Regions from separate parts of the Homo sapiens genome. Here regions 2, 3, 4, 5 and 6 are each linked to region 1. The links are contacts of gene promoters, found by promoter capture Hi-C in blood cells and fetal thymus (Javierre and others, 2016). All regions are on one chromosome and are shown on one strand. The core of a region is centred on a gene start or on the middle of the fragment in contact, and the rest is flanking DNA. Distances in the headings are between cores, read along the strand shown. Region 1 holds the start of NEMP2 (nuclear envelope integral membrane protein 2). Region 2 overlaps STAT4 (signal transducer and activator of transcription 4). Region 3 overlaps STAT1 (signal transducer and activator of transcription 1). Region 4 overlaps GLS (glutaminase). Region 5 overlaps GLS (glutaminase). Region 6 has its middle 42 kb from the start of GLS.

The links. The method cuts DNA at HindIII sites, captures the fragments that hold promoters and counts their contacts. A CHiCAGO score of 5 or more calls a contact.
Region 2: a fragment that was not itself captured here is called in contact with the fragment with the promoter of NEMP2 in region 1 in 1 of 17 cell types (activated CD4 T cells); the score reaches 5.6 in activated CD4 T cells.
Region 3: a contact is called between a fragment that was not itself captured here and the fragment with the promoter of NEMP2 in region 1, in 1 of 17 cell types (fetal thymus). The highest score is 5.4, in fetal thymus.
Region 4: a fragment that was not itself captured here is called in contact with the fragment with the promoter of NEMP2 in region 1 in 1 of 17 cell types (activated CD4 T cells); the score reaches 5.4 in activated CD4 T cells.
Region 5: a contact is called between a fragment that was not itself captured here and the fragment with the promoter of NEMP2 in region 1, in 1 of 17 cell types (activated CD4 T cells). The highest score is 5.4, in activated CD4 T cells.
Region 6: a contact is called between a fragment that was not itself captured here and the fragment with the promoter of NEMP2 in region 1, in 1 of 17 cell types (activated CD4 T cells). The highest score is 5.2, in activated CD4 T cells.

Annotation. Positions count from the first base shown.
Region 1 is chr2:190,533,368-190,536,193 of GRCh38, forward strand. It overlaps NEMP2 (nuclear envelope integral membrane protein 2), which reads right to left and starts at 1,355. Exons shown (of 9, transcript NM_001142645.2): 1 at 1,192-1,355. The coding sequence starts at 1,288. NEMP2-DT (NEMP2 divergent transcript) reads left to right here and starts at 1,471. Exons shown (of 5, transcript NR_183903.1): 1 at 1,471-1,754. RefSeq lists a silencer at 1,019-1,668. The HindIII fragment of the contact is 6,238 bases long and covers 1-2,826 here.
Region 2 is chr2:191,027,648-191,030,473 of GRCh38, forward strand. STAT4 (signal transducer and activator of transcription 4) reads right to left here. Exons shown (of 24, transcript NM_003151.4): 24 at 1,929-2,219. The coding sequence ends at 2,193. The region is part of intron 1 of STAT4-AS1 (STAT4 antisense RNA 1); the gene reads left to right. LOC124900514 (a long non-coding RNA gene) reads left to right here. Exons shown (of 2, transcript XR_007087796.1): 2 at 1-79. Among named protein-coding and RNA genes, the nearest start is that of STAT4-AS1, 7.5 kb to the left of the region's middle. The HindIII fragment of the contact is 1,141 bases long and covers 853-1,993 here.
Region 3 is chr2:191,009,229-191,012,054 of GRCh38, forward strand. STAT1 (signal transducer and activator of transcription 1) reads right to left here. Exons shown (of 25, transcript NM_007315.4): 3 at 648-776. The coding sequence starts at 775. Among named protein-coding and RNA genes, the nearest start is that of STAT1, 3.5 kb to the right of the region's middle. RefSeq lists enhancers at 2,097-2,206, 2,507-2,596. The HindIII fragment of the contact is 4,868 bases long and covers 1-2,826 here.
Region 4 is chr2:190,912,349-190,915,174 of GRCh38, forward strand. The region is part of intron 7 of GLS (glutaminase); the gene reads left to right. Among named protein-coding and RNA genes, the nearest start is that of GLS, 33 kb to the left of the region's middle. The HindIII fragment of the contact is 925 bases long and covers 968-1,892 here.
Region 5 is chr2:190,895,315-190,898,140 of GRCh38, forward strand. It overlaps GLS (glutaminase), which reads left to right. Exons shown (of 18, transcript NM_014905.5): 3 at 290-411. Among named protein-coding and RNA genes, the nearest start is that of GLS, 16 kb to the left of the region's middle. The HindIII fragment of the contact is 6,937 bases long and covers 1-2,826 here.
Region 6 is chr2:190,837,824-190,840,649 of GRCh38, forward strand. No RefSeq gene overlaps it. Among named protein-coding and RNA genes, the nearest start is that of GLS, 42 kb to the right of the region's middle. The HindIII fragment of the contact is 3,899 bases long and covers 1-2,826 here.

The DNA of each region.
Region 1 (2,826 bases), core at 105-2,604:
TTCTCATCTGTAAAATGGGTATAAAATGGTGCTTTCCCGCATAGGGCTTCTATGGGTATTAAATATGATAGATACTGCAGTTAAAGCACTTATAACACTGCCTAGCACATACTGAACACTCAAAAAATTTCTCTTCAATGAAAACTGGAATCCAACACTTCCCCAACATATAACTCACTGCAAGATTCCCTCAGTTGGGAGCTGTGGCAGAATCTGATAATGACCTCATCAACATCCAGTCTCTCATTCATCCTTAGATAAAAAACCGCGGTATAACCGGAGGGAGGGCCATGCCCAGCTAAAAGAATACACTTGGCAGCCTCCCTTGAAACCAGGGTAGCCAAAGCAAGGAAGGGAAGTTGGTAGACAGTGCACCCAGGAAATCTTTTAAAAGATTTTATGAGGGGAAAAAAAAAAAGAAACAGAAATGTGAAGCTCATGGTAAGTTAGCGGCAGGTCTGGAGTTGGAACTCTAGGTTTCTGACTTCCCCAGGTGTCCTTCCCAGATCCTTCCCCAGTGTGCCAGCATCTTAAGCCCACTCCGTGGCGAGCCCCTACAGCTAGCAGCCGCTACCAGTTCTTGCTTCCTGTGTGCCAGGCATTGTGCACACGAACACCACAAGAACCTTGTGAGGCCTCATTACCTGCCGCTCACGTGGGACCGTTATGTTTACTCGCTCAAGGTCACAACAGTCAGGGGCAGAAGAATTTTCGCTCCGATTCTGAAGCTGAAGCTGTTACCTTCTCTAGTCTTGAGACCAAAGGAATGCGAGATAGTGAAATAACAAGGATTTCAACACGCATTGATGTACTGTACAAAAGGCCGTGTGCTGAAAGTCTGGAGACTAGGGTCAGCTGTGCCAGTGACAAGCTGTGTGACCCTGGGCAAATCAAAACCTCTCTGAGTTTCGGTTGCTTCTGTAAAACGAGGGAATTGGGCGACTGGATCGCGCGGTTGCTTCTAATTCTAAAATTACAAAATGTCCAACTGCCAGGCGAGAGACTACGGAAGCCCAGTAAGACAGGAAGGGCGGGCGGGGCCTGCCCGGGAGACCCCAAAGCGAGAAAAGGGAGCGCCCGCCCCAGTGGGCCTCGCGGTGCCGCCCGGGCCAAAGAGCGCGCCCTCAGGGCAGCCGCGAAGCCGGGGAGCGAGCACGCACGCGCGCGCCGCCGCCGCCGGTCCCGGGTTACCTGATAACGCTGCCGCCGCCGCCTCCCCGCGCACGGGCAGTGTGGCCAGGGGCGGCAGCCAGAGCAGCAGCCACCACCGCCCTTGGCGCGGCCCCATTTCGTTAGGGGTCAGCTCCGTGCGACCCGAGCCCTAGGGGACCGGCTCCGCTGCGAGGAGCGGAAGTGGCGCGGGGGCTCAGAGAAGGCGGAGGGGGCGGTGAGGCCCGAACGCGGGAAAGGCGGAGACCCCGCCTCCCCGGGGCGGAGGGAGAGTTGGGCTCGTTGCTCCAGCCTCCGCCCGCGGCCTCGGGGCACGGCGGGCCCAGGCCGGAGGAGCTTTCGGTGGCGCGACCCCGCTGGCATGCTCCCGGCCTCGGCCTCGGCCTCGGCCTTGGCCTCCGGGCCTCCAGCGCACGCGGGGCGTCCAGGGCCTCATCTTCCCCTGGGGACCGCCCGGCCGTGTCCCGCTGCCCTCGGCGCAGGGGTGGGAGTTGCAGAGAGGAAGAGTCGCTAACCCGGAGTGTTTCTTAAAACTTGGCTGACCTGTGACCTGCGGATTTGGAGGCTGAATTCTCCGAGCACCTGTGAGTGACAGCCCGTGAATGGGAAGGTCCTTCGGCAAACGCCCTTTTTGTGAATAAAATACATAAAAGCCAGTTTCTTTATTTTACCTTTCTGTTTATCTTTTTACTTTCATTTGGTAACAAGCAATAACAAATTGGAAATTTGGCCGCTTAAGTAACACTGACTTGTATGTCTAATCTCGGACACGGCATTTCAGAGTACAGAGGGGCTCGTAAAATGTTCCTTCACCAACATGACAAGGTTCTCTTAAAATTACCTTATGTTAAAAAAAAGTTTCTTAATGTAATAGATATATTTTTAAATTAACATATAACCTGAATGATCTTAATACTGATAATTAGGAGATATACATATATTTTAAAGAACATTCCCTCCACAGGACCTGGAACCCATTAATTTGACTCAATATTCCATACTTAACTAGGACAGTCTTCTCTAATTCTGGTCTTTTGGTGAGATATCTTAGAGAACCCAAAGTAACAGAAATTATCCTGTTAAAAATAGATAAGCCTCATTTTTCCTAAAAGTCTGAGTAGGATGGACTAGGCTTTCCTTGCCCTCAAAGAAAGGTTTAACCAACTGCCCTTAAGCACTTGGCACCATGTGTACACCATGTATGGCTTTTAAAAAGTTAAGAAATTTCCTTGTAAGGGACTCTTCAGAGGGATGGTTTTTAAAAATAAACCATCATTACTTGAGTGAAGCCTGTCTTCAGAGAAACAGCAGAGCCCTGATCCAATTCTTTCCTGTATTCCCAGGTGCGGTGTGCACTTGCTTCTTGCAAGACAGCTTTTGTACCTAACCACATTCATTTTGATTTGGTTTAATTTTGGATGGCACTATGGAAAGTAGCTAAAATAAACAGGTGGGTTGTTGAATGATGAATGTATTTTCTACAGATATATCTGGTGGAGAAACAAAAGGGCAGGCAGCAATGTACTAAATATTTAAAGTGCTATTTATATCACAGATCCTTAGTAAATATCTGTAAAGAAGCTATATTGAAACACCACATTTTTCTCTATAAGCAATAAATATTTTTCCGGAGATAACAAGAATGTTAGGAGGTGA
Region 2 (2,826 bases), core at 173-2,672, 490 kb after region 1:
CCTAAGGGCCTCACATGCAGATGCAGGTTCCATGCTTCTTGTGCACTCTGCAAAACCAAATAAATCTCTTTATGAATTACCCAGCCTCAGGTATTCCTTTATAGCAACACAAAATGAAATAAGACACCCCCACAAAAATGATTTTTGGAGTACAAGATTCACAATCTTGAGAAATAACTCTTAACTCTGGGGTCAATAATTTAGTTTTGATTTTCTGAATCTAAATAAAAATAGCCACTTATTGAACTTTTATAACGTGGCCATTGTCCATATTATGGAAAATGAACTACAGATGTCCTTCATTTTGTACCCCCAAATAACAATGATGACTGTGATCACATAGAAAACCTTGGCATTCTGCTACCAGGCTCTAAATTGACAAGTTTTTAAAACTTCTGTGAAATAGGTAGGAGTCCATTGTACTTTTGATAAATTCCAGGGAGCAAAGAGCTTCTGCAATCTATTTTGTCTAAATCCAATTGTTTAAGAGCACTTCCTGGTAGGAAATTACTTCTTTAAAGATAAAACTGTAATAGTCATGCTCCAGTTTAAATTATTTCATCCAATTCTGCTGCCAGTTGATACACGTGTCAGGCAAATTTTAGAAAACCGGGTTTTGTGGAGAGAAGTAGAGACTGGGAGGATGCACCTCCAGTTAGATGCACCCTTCCATCAAACAGATGCCTCCACCCTAAAAGCATTTAGGCGCTCACAAAGGAGTAAAGGAACTGGCCTTGGGGCAGGTGGAGAGTTTGTTCCATAGGAATAATCTAGGAGCCAGTTGGGCACATGTGGGTGGGATGAGATTGCTCAGATGGAATCTCTCTAAGGGAAAGGGCAGGTTATAGTAAAAGCTTTTATTCCTTTGAACTCTTTTCCATCAAACATTAGCCTCTGCCTATTTGGTTTGCCTGGAGGACAGGAGGTGGGCAGAAGGAATGAAATAAGAGCCCTTCAGAGGGGGCTGCCATCTCTGACTCTGCAGTCAGGGCTCATCTTGAAACCTGGTTCTGGATTTTTCTGCAGCTGGCATGGCAGATGCCTCAGTAGCATTACTTGCTCAACAGATTCAGCAGCATCCCCAGGGCTCAGCAGGCATAGAGAGCTCTCCAGGTCTTGAGCACTGGAGAGCTCCATGCTATTACTAAGGACAGCAGCTGGGCAATGGCACCACTAAACATCCAGTAGGGGTGAGGCAAGGACCAAAATAGACTTGCAATTCACATACATTACTATCCAGGAAACCAACTACCCTTCCTCTTTACTAGAGAAAATTGAAGGAATGGAACATCTCATCCTAAACCTCTTTCCCCAGTCTCAGGTTGGATTCTTAGGACCAGAGAGACTATTAGAGCTGGGAAAGATCATAGAACCCACATAGTCTTACCTCTTCTAGAGATGAAGAATGAGCAACCTATGAATAAAATCAGTTACCCAAGGCCAGAGTTGTTATTCTCCTAGTCCTCATTTCATCCTCCTAGTCCTCATGAGTTTTTTTAAATTATTATTTTTTTAACCCATGTGTCTGCTTACAATACCTGTAAAATCAGTGCAGTTTGCCCAAGATACCACCAGGAATGACTCTGGATCCCTCCTCCTTTGGAACCAGCAGCTGTTGAACCCCATAGTTGGAATAACGTTGACATGGCACTAAGGAGGCTTCATAATTCAACCCTGGATGCCCCGTGAATTTCTGCTAATGTCCCATCACGACTTTCCTCTTGGATCTACTGTGATCACCATGCCTGCTAGCGTTCATCATACTGATTGGCTTATTTGGCTTTTCCCTCACGCCTTCTTGCTGAGGTGTAGGTGTGACTTTATTATTCTTGACCTACCCTGAAACATTAACACTTACATCTTCTAGCTAAAATCGTAGTAACACCAGAGAGACAAAATGAGAAATAAACCAAACACAGGCAAGCGAGTCTTCTGTTAATATTGTTATTAACACTGGTTTCTTAAAGTTGTCTTATCTTGCAAGTTTATCTGAAGCTTTGGTTTCAAGCATTTCAGTCACAACACTCCCAATTGAGGAGTGCCACGGGAGTGTGAAGAGAGCTTCAGATGTCAAACATTTCCTAGAACCTGGTATTTACAAAGCTGAAGAAATAAAATGTGGTTATTGGGCAAAGAACAGTCTTTAAACTTTTTCATTTGCTTCCTTTCTTGGTGCGTCAGAGTTTATCCTGTCATTCAGCAGAATAAGGAGACTTCATCTAAAATTAAAAATGAAAATAATCTTTGAGGAAACTACTGGTTTTCAAATCAATCACTATTTCTTGGGCAAATAAACGTCCTCTTTTCTACGAATTACTCCATAATTTTTCTATTACCTAGTTAAAATACTTAAACTAAGTATTTGCAAAAGTAATTGGGGTTGATCAGTCTAAAATAAAAGGTACCTTTCAAGGAGACAGAAAAGTGTTTTAAGAAAAAGGCCTGTTTATCCACCAAAAACATAATGAGGAAATGGGTGCAAAATGTAGCAAATGTTCAGTTAGACATAAATAACTTGACGATTTAAGGGAACTAACATTAGAATAAGCTATCAAAGTAAAGTGAATTTTTCATCTATGGAAATCTTCAAGAGAAGGACTAAAAGCCAGCCAGATAAAAATTTTTTGAGGCTTAGGGTCTCTCCAAGTTTCTATTATATTATTCTGATGTATGTTCACTTTCATGTAAATTGGGGGTTTGAACCCATTGACAGTATTGGTGGATAAGAGCAAATAGCATGCATCCCAAATAACATTATTGCATTAAAGATTATGACTCATTTCTCAAAAAGGAGAGCATTATTATGCCATTGACTGTTATTCATAT
Region 3 (2,826 bases), core at 1-2,500, 480 kb after region 1:
ATTTTCTTCTTTTGAAACTGACATTGCTTTTAGCAGCAGTTTATGTGGTATTTCTCTTATGTGCAATTAGCACAAAAAATTCTAAACTCTAAGAGATTGTGCATGACAGTGTTCATGGTGACTATCTCTGAAGGGGGAAAAGTCAACAGGGGACCCTTCACTTTCTATGTCAAATACTTTCAGGACGTTTTTAAATTAGCAAATAATAAATTTTAAAGTAGAACACCTATCAGTTAAAAAAAATCCCCTTAATTTTACTACCTTCTTCATATTTCTAATCAATGTTTAACCATTAATTTGGCTTTATTTCTTTTAAATTACTTCTTTCTATAGTCTGGATCCTAAGTTGGAAAATAATCGGTGTCAGTATTCCGTAACTTGTCCAAAGCATTTAGGAATATCTATCATAAATTAAATTTGGCAAAACTGTATAAAAGTGCTTAATGACTAATATACTTAACTTTGTTGAGACACTTTTTGGCTCAACTTTGTTGAGTCATTTTTTAAATCAACAAACTTTTCTACAACAAATAATTCCAGTGGCCATTGATGGAATTCATCTTCCAGTAAACATGGCCCCAAGTCACTTAATCAACCAGTACTTTTAAGGTGTAAACTTCTTCTTCTGTCTAGTGAATTTTCCTTACCAGTCTTGCTTTTCTAACCACTGTGCCAGGTACTGTCTGATTTCCATGGGAAAACTGTCATCATAAAGCTGGTGAACCTGCTCCAGGAATTTTGAGTCAAGCTGCTGAAGTTCGTACCACTGAGACATCCTATAGGGAAAAAGAATATACATTCTTTCTATGTATATGGAAACCATAGCTCCAAAGAAAGCCTTCCTAGCATCAGGTTGTACTCTTAAATATCTTGCTTAATCCAAAACATAGTTTGTCCCAGGAATATTTTATTTAAATGGCATTTATAGTCTAAAGCCTGTTTTTAATTGAGTTTGGGGATGAACTTTTTTTCTCCTCCACGAAACACATCTTCATGTCTTTGCTTATTGTCAACATATCAGGGCAGCCTTCTCTGGCCTCTTTTATTTAAACTGCAACCACCTCCCACCCTGGAAACATGCTCTCTCTTTTCCCTGGTTTATTTTTCTTCATAGTACTTACACCACCATCTGACCTACCACATATTTTATTTTCATTATTGTCTGTTTTCACCACTTGAAGGGATGGATGTTGGTGGAGGATTCTGTGCACTGGTGTATCCCTAGAACAATGTCAACCACATAGTAGGTATCCAATAAATATGCCTTTAAAATGAGTTTGTGATTTTATCAAATAAATACATGAAAAACATTATTTTAATTAGACTTGCTTTAAGACAAATCACAAGACTCTCCCAAAATTGCTCTCCTACAAATCACAGTACATTTGTAATTTAACTCAAATATTTTCAAACTTCTGTTTTATATTTATGATTCATATGGTAAAATTCATTATTTTTCTTATACACATTTAAAAAGATATATTTTCTTCTTTGCCTACTACAAACAATAAATCTGGCATAAAGAAGTAATGATTTTTAAAGATTAAAACATCATTAAATGTAATTTAAAAGGATAAAGTAACACTTAGCTTTTTGGATAACTGTTAAGTCCATTTTTACATAGTGATCCTAAAGATTCAAAATCACAACAAAAACTTGATATAAGCAAGTCCTAAAATTCATTAGGAAAACGGAGAGTCTCCCATGACCATCATGTAACTTAGGATTTATATCAGCACACAGGTGGCAATATGCAGAGCAGACACAAGTGAATCTTGTCCTGCCAGACCTCTGGGGAAGGAGTCTGGATTTTCAAGTAGGGCATGGAAGAGTGTGTATGCATACTTGTAGCCGAGCACATGTATGCAGGCATGAGGTCACGCCTACTCCACAAATGTCCTTCCAAAGGAGTGTGAGGAAATGTCTGGCCTATAAAGCTAGTTATCCTCATATATACCAGTAGAAACGGACCCAAGCCCAGCCCCTTGGCACTCCTGCTGAAGCAATTTGATTTTTCAGTTCAGTTTTATTTTACCTGAGTGGAAAAATCTGTGGCTGTCTCCCTCCCTGCTTGGTAACTAATAAGGATCTACCTAAAGCAGATATGCTGGACCGTCAGGCAATGGGAGCTGCAACGCCTCTTATTAGCCAAGCGAACCCAGGTAACTTACTCCCCTATCAACAAGGTGTGTGTGTGTGTGTTTAGTAGACAGGAACTTGCTCTGTCATCCAGGTTGGAGCGCAGTGGCAGTGGAGCGCAGTTCACTGCAGCCTCCAACCCCTGGACTAGAGCAATCCTCCCACCTCAGCCTCCCAAGGAGCTCAGACTGCAAGTGATATGGTTTGGCTCTATGCCCCCACCCAAATCTTACCTCGAATTGTAATATAATTCCCATGTGTTAAGGGCGGGACCAGTGGAGGTAACTGAATCATGGGGGCAGTCTCCCCCATGCTGTTCTCGTGATAATGAGTGAGCCTCATGACATCTGATGGTTTTATAAGCCACTGGCATTTCCCCTGCTTGCATCTATTCTCTCTCCTGCTGCCCCGTGAAGAGATGCCTTCTGCCATGCAGAACTGTGAGTCAATTAAACCTCTTCACTTTATAAATTACCTAGTCTCGGGCAGTTCTTTATAGCAGCATGAGAACAGACTAATACAATAAACACGAGCCAAGAAGCCTGGCTAATTTTTAAATTTTCTGTAGAGACAGCCTCTCGTTATGTTTCTGAGGCTGGTCTCAAACACCTGACCTCAGGCAATCCTTCCACCTCAGCCTCCCAAAGTGCTGGGATTACAGGCGTGAGCTTCCGCACCCTGCCACAG
Region 4 (2,826 bases), core at 180-2,679, 380 kb after region 1:
TTTTTTTTTTTTTTTTTATGAAGTTCATACAAATCTTGGAGAGCAAAGCCTGATATAACCCTATGTAAAATTGAATGCCCCAGAATATGTAATATTTTTCTTAGGATCTTTTAGGGAAAGGATTAAATTCATATAAATATCTATAATGTGATCTCTGCAAATTGTATGATCACATAATATTTATAAATTGGTATTGGTTTGAAATTTAGGTAATAAAACCATAGCCAAAAGGCCTTAAAAATTGTCAAACCCAGTTCTCTTACTTTATATAACGGAGGAAACTGAGAACCTGGCAAGGTTGTAACAGCAGTAGAATTGGACTTGAACTAAATCTCCTGATACTCAATGTGCTGTTCATTACAATTCACTCTGCCATATTTAACGTAGGTGTTTGCCATTTCTCTTGATGACATCTTTAATTTTAGTTAGCATAGTTATATTGCCCCAAATGCAGAAGTACTATTTCCTTAATTTGAACTGGTTCAAACGATAACAATTTATTGGTTTAAAAGTTGTATCTCATTTGATAGCAAGTGTTACGTAGTCATTCTTCGGACATTAGTCAGTAAAGAAACAGGCCCTTTTCCAAGATGCTTGCATCTGAGTACCCAAAGCCACGGATATTTCACCATGGCTACTAGAGGTGAATTCTGTTTTTAGCTCTTTTAATTGATGACCTTAAGGCTATTTGTGATTTTTTTTTTTCTTTCAAAATTCAGGAATTTATCATGGTGCCATTAAAATCATTTTCTTCATGTTAATCCCCCCACCCCAAAATTAAGTAGAGTCTTTAGTAAGACTCTTGATTTCATAATTTTGTAGTATTGATATTTTTTCCTTGTAGGATTGGTGGTGATCCTCAGGAAATGGGGGAAGAGGCAGAGCAAATGTTCAAAAGGATTAGCAGATTGTGGAAAAAAGGAGAATTTGGACAGAAGGAGCCTGTTGCATAAATTCTTAACTACTAAGCTTATAGGAAAACTCCAATATTTAAAATTTTAAACAAAGCTATATAGGTAAATACCTTTTTAAAAACAAATGTAATTTTATACTTAAAATGCACATAATTTTTAAAAATCATAAGGGTATTATACTTCCTCTCTTTTTCTCTGTGGTAGCTACTAACTTTAAAGGAATACTTTTTGTTGTAATCTGTTTTATTTGGGATTGTGATAATGTGTGATTGCTTGATTAAAAGGAAAGAACAAAAATAAATTTGAAAGGAACAGTTATTTTTATATGATGTAGCAGTATCCTTACGTATTTGTTTTCTTTTCACTGGTAAAAATTTCACGTAGTTTTAGTTTAAAAGTTAAGATCTGGTGATAACTTAAGGGTTAGGATAGGAAAATGAGGACAACATACTGCAAAATAATTGCCACACTTAATGCTTTTTCATGTTAGAAATAGTAAAAGTTACACTGTCTTCTATGTTTTTACCTCTCAGAGTTTTTTGTTTTTTGTTTTTTAGAGACAAGGTCTCTCTCTGTTGCCCAGTCTAAGTGCAGTGGTACAGTCATAACCCACTGCAGCCTCAAACTCCTGTGCTCAAGTGATCCTGCCACCTCAGACTCCAGAGTAGCTGAGACCACAGGCACAGGCTACCATGCAGGGCTAATTCTTTATAAAGCTAGGGTCTTGCCATATTGCCCAGGCTGGTCCCAAACTCCTGGCCTAAAGTGATCCTCCAAGTTTGGCCTCCCAAAATGCTGGGATGACAGGCATTAGCCACTCTACTTGGCATGCCTCATTCTAGTGGTAGTTTCCAGTTTTTGTCATTTAAAGAAGTTCAATTTTCTTTTTAATCAAAAGTATTTTTGAATTTTAAAAATTAGGGTTTTTTTTCTTTCTCTTTAAACAATTTGTAATCATACTCATTGAAAATCAAGACAAGCTTAGTTAATGTATATGTGATGTTCAGTTTGGTTATGTTAGCAATAACCTGTTAGGCATGCTTATAAGACAGGTTTTTAAAGTAGTTTGTGACTCTCAGAGTAATGCATGATGCCTTGGACTTGCAACATTCAGAAGACAGGATTATATTGGTTTATTTACTTCTTGTTTATATCAGTTTATGCTTTAGTTTTTTTTTTTTAATGAAAGGTAGAGCATTTATTGTCAACTGAAAATTGTTCTGTTACTTTATTTTTAGGGTTGATCTATGAAAATACTAGATCTAGAAAAACATTCTTTTTTACCTGGAGTGTCTTATTTTTTATTTTCCTAATACTCTTTAGCTTTAAACCATTTTCTATCATAAGACTAAATTAAGAGTATTTCACAAAATCGTTTTTAGTTACCTCTTTTTGCCTTTTTCCTCTATGATCTCTAATTTTTAATTGGCTTGCACCTCCATACTTTATGAATGGAATCAAGTGCGATACTTACAAAATAACTCTGATGCATTGATTTTAAATGAGCCATTTTATTATTAAATTTATTGGCAGATGTCCTTGTTAACAGTGTTTTTCACCTGTTATAAAGTATAATACATGAATCAATTCATAAATATGTTGTAAAAACTATAAAACATTGCAATATAGTTACATTAATTTTTTAATAGATAATGTTAAAACTCAGTGCCTCTATCAAATTTTCATTCATACAGTATTCTTCAAAGGAATGTAAATTCTGTAACTTGACAGGCATATTTACAGAAAAATTTTATAATTTACTTTTTTTTTTTGAGACGAAGTCTTGCTTGTCGCCCAGGCTGGAGTGCAGTTCTGCCTCCCAGGTTCACGCCATTCTCCTGCCTCAGCCTCCCGAGTAGCTGGGACTACAGGCGCCCGCCACTGTGCCTGGCTAATTTTTTTTTTTTTTTTG
Region 5 (2,826 bases), core at 238-2,737, 360 kb after region 1:
TGAAATATAGTCTTAAAGGTCGTCTGACATGTAGATTCTGACTGACAATATTTCTCTTATTATGTTTTCAAATTTTTGTCATGCTCATTTCAAGGTAATCAGTGAAAGAAAAAGAAAGAAACAATGAGAAACTTGTCCAGAAAGTGGGTAATAGTGACACTAAGATGCCATATTCATGTTCAAGTGTTGGGTAGAAGTTTTTATATACAGGAATAAAATCTTATAGTTGGTATAAGCATATACATTATTTGCACTATATATTTACAAACTCTTATTTTTTTAAAAACAGGCACTCAAATCTACAGGATTGCGAACGTCTGATCCCAGGTTGAAAGAGTGTATGGATATGTTAAGATTAACTCTTCAAACAACATCAGATGGTGTCATGCTAGACAAAGATCTTTTTAAAAAGTAAAAGTTTCTGCCAAACCTTTAATGGTGATTTGCTATGCTATACGGTGATTCTGCTTTTAAAACAAAATTGCATCTTTGAAGGCCACTGCTTCCTGTGTAATGGAAAAAGGGGATTTATAAACATCATTTGTTTGAAGAACTTGGTACATATTAGGTTCTATAATACACCGGGCTAAGAGTATTCTTTCTTTAAATCTGTTCTAAGCAAATTTAGCCACCGATGTTTCCAGTTTACAGTACTTGGAGATTGCATTCAGTTTGAGTAGAGCACATCCTTTGTCCTGTCATTGCTTATATTGATCCCCAATTCATCTGCATGACTTGCACGCTTTCTCAGCATGGTCTCTAGTTCTTTTCCACAAGGTGATTTAGGTGACATCATAAAATGAGAGGGCTTCAGACAGACCTGTGTTCCTCACATTTACATACCTGCATTGTCTGCTCCTCTCCTCTCTTCAGACATATTGATACATAGGCTTTTGGCTATTTTCATTTTCTTCAAAACAGTAAAGAACTAAAGGCAACTTTGGCGATTAAAGCCTTGATTTGGTTGAATGAGAATTTTTACTTTGATGTTCCTGTATTTGCATATATTTATTATTTATCTTCATTAATGTGTTTCTATTAGTTTGATTACTTAAAGATTTAATGGACATGTGTGTAATGGATCCCAAAGAATCAAATAGTATTTTAAACTACTACTATTTAAGTAGAAACTAGTATAAAACTGTAAATACTACTATAAGACATTGGCTTTTTCCAGACATGGATCCAAAAAATTTCTGCATCTACTTTGAAAGTTTGTTATGTATGGTTGTATTTACTTTTGTTTTATCTTCTTTTGGGGGTTGGGTGATTTGTTCTAGATGTCTCCTGGAGTATGAAGTCATCTGAAGGTATAAGTATTTAACTGTGGTTCTCTGAAGTTTCCTGGCATGCTGTGAAGCACTGCTGACAGCTTGGGTTTCTTATCTTTTCACGAGGAGGTTCTTGTTTCTGTTAACTTAGCTGACCTTAAAGTGTAGACTTTAGGTCCGTGTTGCAGTTGGTATTAGGAATTTTGACTTCCAGAACCTGCTTTTTAAGAGACAGAAAAACATCATTTCTAAATTTATTTGTGTCTTTGCGGTAAGGATTATTTTTCGTGTTCATGAACTGTCTGCACAATATTCTGATTAAAGTGCTTTCTGTGGGCATTATTTTGTTGTATCTGTGAATGAAGTTGTTAGAGTAATGGTTGGTAGATCTGTTGATAATCAGTAGGGGAACTGCTTTGGAATTTTAAGTGGAAGCAGTATTTTACACTTTTTTTTTTTAAGAGACAGAGTCTCATTCTGTCGCCCAGGCTGGAGTGTAGTGACATGATCTTGGCTCACTACAACCTCTGCCTCCCGGGTTCAAGTGATTCTCCCACCTAAATTCCCAAGTATCTGGGATTAAGGGCGCCTGCCACCATGCCTGGCTTTTTTGTATTTTTAGTGAGACGGGGTTTCACCACGTTGTCCAGGCTGGTCTCGAACTCCTGACCTCAGGTAATCCATCCGCCTCGGCCTCCTAAAGTTACACGGTTTTAATACTTGAAAAAATATTTATGTTTTGTAAACATGTTGTTATGTTTAAATATGAAATTAAAAACAATTTAAATCCTCTGATTATTAAGCCAGGGAACTGCAAACATTAAATTTTCTGCCTGCAATTAAGAGATAGTAATTATTGTTTTAAACACTAATCCAATTTTTAAAAATCTATGCTTGTAATACAGGCAGTTTCCAACTTGACAAATGTTTTATGGTCTATATGAGCAACCAGTAGAAAAGTACAAGTCTCTAGGGCATAATTATTTCTCTTTATTCTTAGAATGAGGTGGTTCAAAACCTCCAACTGTTAACCTTTTAATAGCTTTCAGTCACCTGGAAAGGTGATTGCTTCAGAGATGTTCTTTTCTCTGTTTTCAAATATAAGAAGTTACCTAGTTAGTGTTGCCAGAAATAAACTTCTCCCTTTCATGCAGCTAGGGAGGAGATGTTAAAACATGGGATTCATTTTTCCCCAGAGAAATAATTTATAAAGGTGGGTAGGTTTGGTTGAAGCAGTGTGTTAATATTTTACCTAAAATACATTGTAGATTAATATTTTTAGACTTTTTCGGTAATCTGAGAAAACTATTATGTGTGACTTTTTTTAACTTGGGAAAATACGTTCTAAGCATACTTTTTGGAGTAAAACCTGTTCGAAAGTTGGAGACTGCCTGTACCCAGGTTGATAGTCAATTGTTTTTAATGCTAGTAAATCTTAACACTAATACAAGTAAAAATATTTGTGTGGAAAACTAATCCTTTCTTTATTCGTGCATTTTTAACTTTATAGGTATTAAAACTTTCTTTGTATGATCATAATTTTTTGATCTTTTTG
Region 6 (2,826 bases), core at 139-2,638, 300 kb after region 1:
AGGGAAGGAATATTCCAACTCCTTACTGCTAAGCAGTAATGTTGAGATATCAACATTTTGAAATGAAACCTTCTTAGAATATTTATTTTTTCCAAATTTGGCCCAGGGCCTTGACTGGCAGTACTTGTGCACTTTATTACTCATATACATTTTAAATAATTATGTACAATTTTCCATATTTCATTCTATCCCTCTATCTCCATGTTGGGGCATCTGAAACAACTATTTCAGGCATTTGGTTTTCTGGTCTCTAAGGAAAGATATCTCCAATTCTGTTTTTGCTCTTGCCTACATTCTTTTGACATTATTATAAAAGCAGACACGATAATGAGCTTTGACGGGATGAGCTGCTGAAATGGCTTAGGATTCAGGATTCAGCATGCTATGGCCCACAAACCAAAACCAGACTGCTGTCTGCTTCTTAGTTTCATTGAAGCATAGCCATGCCCATTCATTTATTTGTTGCCTATGGCTGCTTCTGTGCTATACTGACAAAGTTGACAGGGACTGTACGGTATACAAAGCCTAAAATTGTGACAACTACTGTATGGCCTGAAAAGCCTAAATTCTTACTATCTGAGTATTTTCAGTTTGCACAAGAATATAAACCAAATATGTCAACTATGCACACCATTTAATTCAGCTGACACGATTTTTGCAGCAAGACTTTGTTGATGAGGGAAGAAGTGTACAGATTGACATTCTGGTGCAAGCTCTTTGTCTCTCTGGATCAGCACTTTTAGTAGCACTGATTTAAGTGACTCTATAAAACTTTTACTTTGAGGAAAATACTTACTTGATAACATTTCTAGGCTGTGTGACTCATAGATGTGGTTAGAGCTATCAGACTTTGCTATTTCATAAAGTTGCCCCCAAACTTTGTGACTCAAAACAAATTGCAGTTTGGCATTTTGGACTGGGCTCAGCTTGGTGGTTTGGCTTTGTACAGGCTAAGATGATCTTACAGCTGGACTTGTTCATGTATCCGTGGGCAGCTGGTGGGTTAGCTAGGGCTGGTTAGTCTAGGACTGTTCAACTATTGCAGCTTTCTGCCCCTCTCGGTCTCCCTTGATGCCCAAGATATGTTGGGCAGGAGTCTGAGATCAGAAGGAATGAAAGCTCTGAGGTCTCTTGACACCTGGATTCAAAACACACGCAACCATAAAAAATGACGAGTTCATGTCTTTTGTAGGGACATGGATGAAGCTGGAAACCATCATTCTCAGCAAACTATCACAAGGACAAAAAACCAAACACCGCATGTTCCCACTCATAGGTGGGAATTGAACAATGAGAACACATGGACACAGGAAGGGGAACATCACACACCGGGCCTGTTGTGGGGTGGGGGGAGGGGGAGGGATAGCATTAGGAGATATACCTAATGTTAAATGACGAGTTAATGGGTGCAGCACACTGACATGGCACATGTATACATATGTAACAAACCTGCATGTTGTGCACATGTACCGTAAAACTTAAAGTATAATAAAAAAATAAAATAAAAAACACACAAACTATCACTTCCATCACATTCTTGGCCCAAGCAAGTTTCAAGAGCAGCCCACCTGATCTTGGGGGTGGGGAAATAGACTCCACTTCTTGCTGGAAGGAGCTGCAAAGTATTGCAGCCATTTTTGCAATCAACCACAGGAAGGGAGAAGGGAGAAAGAAGATGACCGCTTCTCTTCAGTCCTTTCTTTTCCAAACTTTGGTCGAATTTCACTATTCTAGCGCCTATCATAATACTCCCCAACTGGCCTGATCCAATTTCAGAGTTTTATGTAACTTCTAGGAAAGACTCTGACATCAAAAACAATAAATTTGAATTATAGTAAAAGCAACAGAAATTATAGTAATTATAGTAAGAATTATAGAAAGAGCAATAGAAACAGAGCTGAAGTCTAGGAGTCCAGGTCCCTCTGCTGCAGAATTTAGGTTTTATAATATGTGAGATTATAGCATTGTAAATTTTGTGCTAAACATTTCAATAGTTGTATCGCCTTCAGCAGTTTGGCAGTGCTTATTGATCCATATAGGCTCTAATATAGCACAAAACTTTAATGAGATAAATGTAAAATGCTAAATACTAAATAACACACCTTAGGAGATTCTGAGCATTTCCTACTCCTATCACCTGGGTGACACAGTTTGTTTAATGTATATGACTACATGTTTGGTATATTTGTTTCTGTGGCAATACATATGTGGATATGTTATTATTCTCACAAACCTCTATTTGGGAGGTAAGAAAGAATGGATGAAGGTCAGAGACTGCATAACTTACCAATGATCACTTTTCATACCTGCAAATTTCTCTTAAGGTCTGTGCATTTTTTCAGAGAAATTAGCTTTCCAGAGGGTGTATTATTTCACCCCATCTTATCCTTAAAGTGATCTGAAATGTTAGATGTGCTTTTGCTATGAAGTTTCAGAAAAAAAGACAATAGAAATAATGACTAACACAGAGATCAATTATTGACAAGAATATGTATAGATGAATTTAGACACAGAATTATTCTTGAGTGGCCTTAATGTAAAACCCTACTTAACATATCCTTGTTGAAAACTTTGATTCACATTTTACTCCATGATTCAGGCTCTGACCTTAGAACTTAGAACCTGCACACAAATCCTATCTTTCGTGCTTCCTGAAGCCCTCAGGTGCTATGTAACCCAGAAGTCCTAGCTTTTCCAGCCTAGAAGTCACACTTGGCTTTAGGATTTTGACAATAGTCCAAACTTAACTTCAGGTAGTCCAATTTTTACCAGGATCTACTTCCCAAGTATTTCAGGAAATTCCCAGGAAGGGCTCCCTTGTTTGAT